Linked DNA regions of Homo sapiens: regions 2 and 3 are each linked to region 1. The links are contacts of gene promoters, found by promoter capture Hi-C in blood cells and fetal thymus (Javierre and others, 2016). All regions are on one chromosome and are shown on one strand. The core of a region is centred on a gene start or on the middle of the fragment in contact, and the rest is flanking DNA. Distances in the headings are between cores, read along the strand shown.

Region 1 (3,497 bases), core at 19-2,518:
CCTTAAGCGGTTTCCTCTCCGGCGAGACGTGGGCAGATTTTTAAAAGAAATACCCCACAATCCCAGCATTGATCGGCTCGGCCATTTAAGGCAGGTTTTTGGGGGCTTTCGTTTCTGCTTTCGGGCCTTCTAGACACCCCCTGCACTGCACAAAGCGTCCTCTATGATCGCGCAGGGGGCAGGGTGAGCTATTTATACCCGGGCCACCCGAAGCCTCCCCACCCTCCACCCGTACCCGGACGAGGCTCGCTGGCTACCTCCAGGGCGCCAGGCCAGTCCCTCCCAGCGGCCGGAGTCCGGGGGCTGCGGCTGGAGCCATCGGTCCGGGTTGACATCATATACCAGCCCCTGGGAGGTATAGCCCTTCTCCCTCTTTCTCCTTAACTTCTCGCATTGAAAAAAATTTTGGAGACCAAGTTCTTTCCCGGAACTAAGGAGGCTTGAAGAGGAGGGCAGAGGACATCCTATACAGGTGTTAAAAATCTTTCTACGGATCCGAGTGAGGGGGTCCGGGCTTACATGGCCCCTTCCCCTTTCACTCCCAGCGTCCAACCCGGGCTGCGGCTGCAGGAATGGAGGGGACCACGGCCTCGGCAGCCAAGTTTTGCTACTTACGGGAGTACTGAAGGCCCTCGGTGCTGGCCAGCCAGCGCGTGTACGGGTTGTCGCTGCTGTCGTAGAAGGGGTTCTTCAGGGGCAGGCTCTGCACCGCGTCCAGGGCGCCCTGCCCCAGCGGCCCGGCCCTCTTGGCTGGCTCGGGCCCCTCGTTCTCTTCCTCCGGACCTTCGGCCACAGAGCCCTCCTCATCGTTGGTGTCCGGCAGGTCTAAGATGTCCTTGACCGAAAACCCCGTCTTTGTGTTGGTCAGCGACATGGTTCGAGACCCCAAAATTTATGTCGCAAAGTTGTAGCTTCACTTGGTCAATTCGTGGCGCTCCCCTGCCCCGGCGGGCGGGGGAGGGGGGAGTTGGGGGGAGGGACTGGGGGAGGGGAGGGGGGAATTGGCTTTAATTATTGGGATAATTATTATTTTTAAAAAGAGAAAGAAACTGGGGATGGGGAGGAAAAAAATGAAGCCCAACCCAGTGCCTCTCTCTGTCTTCTTTGAAAGCACGCGGAAATGGACGCAGGAAGCCGGGCGGCCTGCGCGCCGAGCGCCGCGGGCCCCGGCCTTAGTTTCTAACTCCAGGAGGGGTGCCAAGGCGGCGTCAGCTCGGGCTCCGGCGGCCGCTCGGCGCGCGGTGGCGGCTGGTGGCGAGGAAAAAATGGGCCATTGCCCGAGCGATCAGTCCATATAAGGCTGGGCTCCACTCACGAACCTGGGGAGGCGGGGAGAGGGGGAGAAAGAGAGGGAGGGAGGGAAAGAAAGAGGGAGGGAGGGGGAGCGAGAGAGGGAGCGGGAGAAGGGTGGAAAAAAGGGGGAAGAGACATTAAAAACGCAAAGGTTGGCCACGTGTGGGCGGGTCTTGGGAGTCAAGTGGATGAAGACAGTATTTGCAGATGTGAAATTGTGGGTTTTGGGGAGCTCCGCGCTCCCAGCCAACGGCCCTCTAGAGCAAGATGAGAGGTGTAACGTGTCAATTAATTGCAAAGACGGGGCGAGCCTTTTTTTTTTTAAACCCAGTATTTACATACAAAGGGCCACCGCGTCGCTCGCGAGTCCACACACTTGAAAGGGCCGTTTTAACAAATTGCATCTTAAAAAAGGTGGGGGTGGGGAGGAGGAGGGGAGAAAACAAAACAGAAACCAGGAGGAGGGAAAAAATCCTCTTTAACATTCACCGGTTCCTACCTCCCCGCCCCCGCGCGCCCACCCCCGGCAAGCCGGAAAATTGGCGATTTGTGGCGCCTTTGGAAAAGGGGGAGGGGGCGAAGGCCGAGCTGCGGAAATCTCTCCTTTCCATCGTTGGTGGTTGCCTAAACAAGATCCGGTTCAAATGGCAAGAGCCCAACTTCTGTAAGCCTCCTAGGTCAATATTTTGGTTGAGGCTTAAGGATGAGTGCTAGAAATGACAAGGCAAGTAATTGATTCCAGTTAACCGCGAGAGAGCCCAAAACCCAGGAGAGAGCTCCGCTCCGGGCCGGCCAGAGCCACCACCAAGCGACCCGCCCCCTTCCAGCCGCCCTTTATTTGCTAAAGACTCATTTATTTCCTTCACTCCGCCTCCCCCCACCTCCCACCCCCAACCCCCCGCCTCCACCTCTCTGCGGCCAAGGAGGACGCGCAGTTCACTTTCTGCTTTGCGGGCGGTCCCGGGGAGGGCGGGGTAAGAGTGAGGAGCTCCAACTTCGTCTGGGGTCGGACCCTGGCCCTGCTGCCTCTGGGCTCTGCGGGCCTCTTTCCCCGGGTGGAGGAAAGGGCAGACGGCCCTGCTCTTTCCTGCCCTCTATTATCCCTCCCTCTCCGGCCCCCTCCCTCTCCAGCCTCTGGCTAGAGGTGGAGCAGCGGGAAGGCGGCGGGGCGGGATTGCGGGGGTGGGGGTGGGGGTTGTGTCTCCAGCCTGGGTGAAGACCCAGAAAGCTGCGGGGGAGGGGGGTCGCTGGGTGGCCCGACGATGCCTCGTTTTCTCCCCAGTTTTCTTCTCCCACGCGAGTTCTTTAGTGTGGTCTCTTTTTGGACGCCTTGGGTGCGTTCGGAGTACGCGCTCCACGTTTCCAGGTTAAGTCAGGTTAGTGTGAAGTTTCCAGCCACTCTCGGCTCTGGGAACTGAACTTTCCCGGGACTTGCACTTCCTCCTCGGCGCTGGGGTTGGAAAAGACCACGCCGCATTTGCCACCCCTTCTTCTAGTTAAAACTTTTTTGGGGGGGGGGTGCAGGGGTGTAGATTGGCTACCTGATGCTCGTTCGCCCCAGAGGAGTGTCAGGAAGGAGCTTTGTCTGGGGGCGGGGAGGGGCACAGAAGGCCACCCCTGCGGGGTCCAGGTCTAGTCTTCCCACAACCTGGGCTCCTCCGCGCGGGCCAAGCTGAGCGCGCGGGCACCGGGTCCTCCTCGCGCGCAGCTGCAGCGGACGCCGCCGCGCCCCAGCTGCCCCCGGGTTGCCAGCGCTGGGTGAGGGCACCTCTCCCCGAGCCGCTCGGCGGCTTTCTGCAGCCCTAGCTGCCTCGCCCCCAGTATGTGACGTGGGTGACAATGGCCCAGGTTAGAGCAAGCCCCTCGTCGGCGCGTCCTGGGTGGTCGGACCCGGGCAAACACAAATACAAACCGATTGCTAAGCTGCGGACAATGAGCGAAATGTAGACAAATGTCCCGCTCCCGTTGGAAGCCTTTGTCCCGGCTCGGTTTTTGCATTTATTTCAGTGGCGAAATAATACATGATTGACGCTCTCTTTCAATGTGTCCTAACTGTTTGGAATAAATCTAAGGTTGTTCCTAGTTGTCATGGCATTCAACCCTTTTCAATGGACTATCTCTTCATTCATTTCTGAATCCGTCCACAATATTAAGGAAACCCCTTCATGTCGACGCTCCCCGATTCCTCTTTCTCCTCCTACTTT
Region 2 (3,543 bases), core at 321-2,820, 610 kb before region 1:
CACCGAATACATGAATAAGCAAAGCAGAATGTACAGACTTCAGAGCTCTTGGCAACAAGTGCAAGCTGGGTCAGACATAAGAATAGTGGATGGAGCAAGAGAACAAAGTCACAGACTGAATATTGAGGGTTGCTCCAAGAAAGGGAGACTCCCAAGCACAGGACTGAGTCAGGGAGCTCTGTCTGGTACAAAGCCTCAGTGAGGACCAACAGATAAGGCCCCATGTCAATGAAGGCAGCTACCCAACTGGCTTCATCAGTGACTGGCTAATATTAGGTCCACTCCATTAACTAACCAACATTTCATGGAGGTCTCCAGAGGGACCTTTGGAGCATTTTCAGGTGTTCCAGAAACTAATTCAGAGTGTGCACATAGAAGTTAAATCGTTTCAGGTCAGGCCTTCCTCAGGGAGTTTGTCCAGAGGGAATAATGGGCCCATGCTGGAGCTGGAGGTGCCTCCAGGGCCACCAGCAACCTGCATTGCTCTGCAATTATCAGAAGCTCCATCTTAGTGTGAATTCACAGACCTCAAGACAAGGATATGGGTGCAAGAGAAGTGCAGGGAACACTGGAGAGAAGTGGGGAACTGAAACCTGGAAGTAACGACAGTCAATACATGGTGCATTATTAAGCCAGCTGTCACTTTGGACAACTCAAGCTTAATCTCATGGGAAAATTGGGAAACAGTGCAAAACACATGTCTCAGAATTACCCAGCTCTATTAGGGAGAGAGCTGGGGTATTGATACACCAAATAAATAAGAGTCATTGGCTGAAAGCTGTTTCTTGTGAGGGAGTGTTTATTCCTAGTACTTCTGTCCATGTATTTGTAGTTAGAAGTTGGCCAGAGCACACTGAAATAGTAGGGTCTGAGGTTTATCAGTTAGTTTCTTCTGCATAACAAACCACGTCAAAACTTAGTGGTGGATGATAGTATCTATTCTTTTTTAAATTAAAAAAAAAAATTTCTACCCCTTCTTCTTCTGAAAATAACCCTCTATTCTACTCACAATTCTGTGGGTCAAAGGTTTGGCATCTGCAGTCAGCCATCAAGTCCGCTGGTATCTACATGATCTAGCACGGCTTTACTCACATGTCTAGTGTGGACAAGCTGACTGTTGGGATAATGAGTGTGACTGGACCAGGCTGGTCTCAGCTTCTTCACCTGTTAATAGTCACCAGGTTCCAAGAACAACACAAACGTAAGCCTCCATGTGCAAGTTCTTTTGAGCCTCTGCTGTACTCCACATTTGCTACTGTCCCACTGACCAAAACAAGTTGCATGGCCAACCCAAACTGGTGTAAGATTATCAGATAAAATGTGATATGTCAAGTTCATTTTGAATTTTAGATAAACAAGAAATAATTATTTTAGTATTAGTATGTCCTATTGAAAGATGTGGTATTAGTCAGGGTTCTCCAGAGAAATAGAATCAGCAGGAGATGATAGATAGATGATAGATACATAGATAGATAGATGATAGATAGATGATAGATAGATAGATAGATAGATGATAGATAGATGATAGATAGATGATAGATAATAGATAATGATAGATAGATAATAGATAACAAATAGGTAGATAATAGATAGATAGATATGCAAGAGGAGGTTTTCATAGAAATTGGCTTACATTGTTATGGTTATGGAGACCAAGAAGTCCTACAATCTTCTGTCTGCAAGGGGAAGAACTAGAAAGCCAGTGGTATAATTCAGTTCAAGTTAGAAGGCCTGAGAATCAGGGGTAGGGGTGCTAATGGTGTACATCCCAATCTGAATCCAAAAGCCTGAAAAAAAAGGCTGAGCTCTGATGTCTAAAGGCAGGAGAAAATGGATGGGACAGCTCAAAAAGAGAGAGTGCATTTTCCTTTCCTCCAGCATTTTGTTCTATTTAGGTCCCCAAGGATTGTATGGTGCCCACCCACACCGGGGAGGGCCGTGTTCTTTACTCAGTTCACCGATTCAGACTCCGATCTCTTCCAGAAACTCCCTCCCAGGCACAGCTGGAAATAGTGCTTTACCAGCTACCTGGGCATCCCTTAGGCCAGTCAGGTAGACACATTAACCATCACAGATGTCTTCTCTGACCACCTTCCTATCCCATTTTTCTGTACATCACAGAGAGAATGCAATGCTTTTTCTTCTTTGTACTTTTCACATTTACATAAGTAGTTAGATATTTACGTGTTTGTTTACTAGTTTATTGCTGTCTTCCCTTCCAAATTGTAATCTCCATAATAGGGACCATCAGCATTTGAGCCTGGCACCAAGTGGAGGGCCTGGCATTCAATTAACACAGGCTAAACAAATGAATGAACAAACTAAAGAGCAGGCGAATGAAATAATGAATGCTGTGTGCAGTTGGCCTACCTCAGAGTTTGGGGTTCAATCCCCTCAGAGCCTTTGTCCCTTATGTCCAACCCACAGGAGCCTTGTTTAAAGATATAAATACCCTCCAATGTCAAGGTGACATCACAAATACTCAAGCTTCCATCTTGTGGTTTATTAAAAGGCTGGCTGAACCCTTCAATGCACTTAATTCACCATTACTTTCTTGTTCTTTATTCCCTCCATATGCATTGTGTGAGTTTGTGTATGCATCTTTATATAAATTCTTATTATTCAGGTTCATAAAATATCTTTTATGAGAGGAACTATACATGGCTGACCCAGATGCACACGAGGAAATGTTTCATTTCTCAAGAAGAGCCTTCTGTGCATCCCGCCACCCCCCTGCCATGTGGCTTACCCGGGAGACCTAATGGTTCTGAAAATTGGAGCAGCTGTTTGGCTCATAAATTACTGACCTACTGTGTGCATAACAAGTGGGACTTAAATATAACCAGCTGGGGCTATTTTTGTCAAAACCAGATTTTGAAATCCTGCATTCAGAAAAGCATTTGGGGTGTCTTTCTGATACAATTGTGTGTGGTTGTGTATCTATCTGTCTGTCTGCCCGTCTGTCTCTTTGTGTATGAAAAGAGAGGGGCAGAGAGGAACGTGAAGGGAAACTCAAGTAAGTGGATTTCATGTGCTTTATTAATCACAGACAAAACATATTTTCTTCTTTAGCAAAGCCAGGCTAGTTTATCTAACATTTGTCTAAAAAAAGGTCGCAGTTTATATTAAACCCAAATGCAGGGTCAAAAAAGCATGAACGTATAAAAGACCATGTTTACAAGAGAAAAGGCTGTCAAAGACTGGGCAAGGAGGACTGCTTACCTCTGCTGTAAAACTACCATTAGCACATTCTTCCTTCTATCATTTTTAATAGATATTAAGTGGTTTTAACCAAATCATTATGAATCTCAAAAGATTAATGTTTTAGAGTATATGATGATACTCTTTCCACAGCCCTTGGGAAATCTATAAACAACAAACTGTAAAGAGTGGTTACTAACTTTGGTGGAAGCTTATGGACTCCTTGGAAATCTAATGAAAGCTATGAACCCTCTTCCCAGAAAAAAAAATACACCCACAAATTTGCATACAATTTCTGAGGCTTCACTCACCATTTGAAAGCCATCCATGAATCCTAGGTTC
Region 3 (3,324 bases), core at 738-3,237, 630 kb before region 1:
TCACACCATACATAGAATAAATATAACCAAGATAATTAGAGGTCTGAATGTAAGAAAGGAAGCTGTACAAGCATTTGGAAAAGACACAGTGAACTCCTCTATAACCTGCTGTGGAGGAAGGGCACTGTTCTACAGTGGGCAGGTCTATGCAAATCTGCTCCAAAGTCCAAGGAAGCTGAAAGGCCCAAGAAAGAGGCTGGCAAATCCAGTTTCTTCGAAAGAAACACTTAATAAGGACCTGGGAACAGAAGTTGTGTCTATGTCTTGGGTGGCGATGACATAAGATGGTGGATCCCATGCCATCACCCCCAGACCCAGGGCTTCTATGCCATAGAGAAGGGGTGGTTCAGAAGGGATGTGTAGGATAATCGAAGCACAGTAATACCAAGGTTGTTTGGGATTTACGGTAAGGACCTGCTCCTATACAAGGAGCAATAGATAAAAGGGAAATCTTAGAGGCTTCTCAGAACAGGGGTTAATGGAAGCCAACCTGGCAGATTAGCATCTAAGATGGAGTCGCTTTGGCTCCACACGTGCTCTAACTGTGGCTAACATCTCTGCTATGGAGAGACTTCTTAACAATTGAAGGAAAAAAGAGCAAACATCAAATAGAAAAACACACAAAAACACAAACAGACAATTTGCAACAAAAGGCTATAAAAATGGCCTTTAAACACATGAAAAGATGTTGAAATTTGTTCATATTAAGAGAATGGCAAATTAAAATTAGGCTGAGACACTATTTCTCATCTATCTGATTGGAAAATATTGAAAAGCTCCACAACACACTCTATTGATAAGGCTGTTCGGGAAATAGGCACTCTCACTGCTACAACTCTTGAGCGGGAGCACTTGGAAACAGCTAACAAAACTACATATGCACTTGCCTTTGACCCAGATATACCGACTCTAGGAATTTACTCTAAAGACACACCTTTAATGATACAAAAATATATAAACACAAGGCAATTCATTGCAACCTGGTTTATAATTGCAAAATATTGATAACTACCTAGAGACCCAATCACGGAGAGTATTTGAATAAACTGTGGTATATCTACACAACGGAATATTGGGCAGCTGTGAGAAATATTGAGAAAGATTACTGTAAACTGCTATGAAGTGATTTCCAATGTTCAGTGAAGAAAGCAAAGTGCAAAAGAGTATCTAAAGGATGCTTCCTTTTGTGTAAGAAAGATTAAAAAATTATAAGCTTATTTGCTAATGTTTTGCATAAAGAAATACAGGGAGGATAAACCAGAAACTAACATGATTAGCTACCTCTAGGGAATGGGTTGGAACAGGATGGAAGAGATAGTGGGGTTTGAATGGGATGGAAAGGATTAGGCTGGAGAGGAAGAGACAGTGGGGCAGGAATGGAGTAGACTTAAAGAACCATGTTAATTTTTACAAACTCAGAAAAAAATTAAATGAACAATGTAGAAAAAATATTAAAATAAAATGTAAACAGAAACAAATAAACTTAATTGTCTTTTAAAGAAATAACCATCATGAATGGGAGGGAATGGTTGGTCCAAACCTATTATGGCCTGGAGTGCTTTATTTCCCTACAAGCCTACTTTAGCATGGGAGATGGTACTTTTGTACAGAAAGAGCCCTGAAGGAGAGGAGAGAAAACTTAGTAGAATGCATTTTTGAAACGATCCATCAAAGCTCTTATAGCACATGTTTTCATGGGTTCTTAGTGTAGGAGCAGTTTGAAGTGGATTTAGTTTTATGGATAATAAACATGAGGGTAAAGGTCACATCAGACATTTTGTTGCTAAAGGCAGGTGATACTGAGATTATGTAGACACACAGGTATGCAATCTACATATTTTTAATGTGAAGAGTCCATGAGGGTGAGTCCAGCATGCTAATTGCTTGATGCCACCAAAAAGTATAATCTTGAAACAGAAGCAAGAAATATCCAAACAGGCCCCAAATAAGAATTTTAAATGGCTTTTCCTCATCTTCCAAGTGGAGTTCTACCCACACAGATTTATTGAGTGCTTACTATATGCCAGGCACTTTTGTCCCAGGACAATAAGGGACAAGACCCTCATGGAGACAGACAAGGAAAAAGAAGACAATTATCAAAGAAGACAAATTTGAGGAGTGAGCAATGACTTAAAGACAACAGAGTGGAGGTGGGGGCCACTTGTGCTGAGATAGTAAAAAAAAAAGTCCTCATCAATGAAGAGACATTTGAGCTGAGATCTGAGTGGGAGAAAAGGCAGTGTGCAGAGATCCAGGGATGAGTGGACCAGGCAGAGGGCACAGCAGATGCAAAGGCCGTGGGGTAGAACCAGCGTGTTTAAGAAACAGAAAGAAAGCCAGCATGGCTACAGCAGAACAAACAGGAGCCTGGCATGAGATTAAGCAGGATCACATTATAAAATAATAAACCCACCCAGATAACGCTATATTCTTAAAAGACTGACCCAAATTATATTCTGGTTCCCTGAACCTGAAAATTGTGTTTCTACTTCATGAAAATTCCTATGCCAGAGATAAAACTTGAAAAGGATTTAATGAAAAACCTTTACTCTTTCCCTTATCTGTTCTGGTTTAGCTATTTCCTCAGAGGTTGTCAGGCAAGGAGAGGAAGCTAGCTTAATGTTTCAAAAATGCCATTACTCTATGAAGAGTGATGCTGCTTTTGCTAAGTCATGAGGGGAAAGGCTACTCTTGGTTGATGAAACTCTCGATATTTATTTATTAAATAATTGTTTAAGGCAAATGGGGATTTCTGCTGGAAGAAGCTTCCTATAACCCCACCTAGCAAAGTGGAGAGGCACAGGTGAAGAGAGCAATTTCATGGTTCATGCTGCTATTGATGCTTCGTCATGTCCTTTGAGAGCAAGACTCTTTTGTTCAAGTTTGGGGAAGGAAGTGTTTAAGTTTTAGGTACTGTCAAATTTGGCCATCCAAGTGGAAACCGGGGGGCTTTCTGGGAAGATAAGAGAACAGAACTGGGGGACTCTTCCTTGGTGACCAGGGAGACAGCTCCATTAACCACCATCCAATGCTTAAGAGGGAAGGACCCAACTCTTTACCGCTCTCACAAAGTCTGGTCCAGAACAATCAGAACCCAAGGTCATTTGCTGCATGAGCTCACCTTCTTCTTATGGTTGGAGCTGTGTTGATAATGAGATGCTCAAAGGGACCATTAAATGAATGCTTCCTGTGCATGGCTGTATACTTACAGGAGAGCTGAGGAGCGCACAGGAGACCAAGCACTCCACCATTTCTGCTTCACTGAGCACGGAGCCATCTCTCCTTCGCAGAGCAGAAGACATTGCTCCAGCAGGTACGACTTTA

What was found. Contacts are between HindIII fragments. The CHiCAGO score rates a contact against its expected background, and 5 or more counts as called.
Region 2: a contact is called between a fragment that was not itself captured here and the fragment with the promoter of NKX2-2 in region 1, in 1 of 17 cell types (M1 macrophages). The highest score is 5.5, in M1 macrophages.
Region 3: a fragment that was not itself captured here is called in contact with the fragment with the promoter of NKX2-2 in region 1 in 6 of 17 cell types (M1 macrophages, total CD8 T cells, naive CD4 T cells and 3 more); the score reaches 8.4 in M1 macrophages.

The regions. Positions count from the first base shown.
Region 1 is chr20:21,512,796-21,516,292 of GRCh38, forward strand. NKX2-2 (NK2 homeobox 2) reads right to left here and starts at 1,269. Exons shown (of 2, transcript NM_002509.4): 1 at 616-1,269. The coding sequence starts at 874. RefSeq lists an enhancer at 2,966-3,466. The HindIII fragment of the contact is 7,883 bases long and covers 1-3,497 here.
Region 2 is chr20:20,903,904-20,907,446 of GRCh38, forward strand. No RefSeq gene overlaps it. Among named protein-coding and RNA genes, the nearest start is that of LINC03083, 65 kb to the right of the region's middle. The HindIII fragment of the contact is 1,829 bases long and covers 657-2,485 here.
Region 3 is chr20:20,881,875-20,885,198 of GRCh38, forward strand. No RefSeq gene overlaps it. Among named protein-coding and RNA genes, the nearest start is that of LINC03083, 87 kb to the right of the region's middle. The HindIII fragment of the contact is 1,552 bases long and covers 1,212-2,763 here.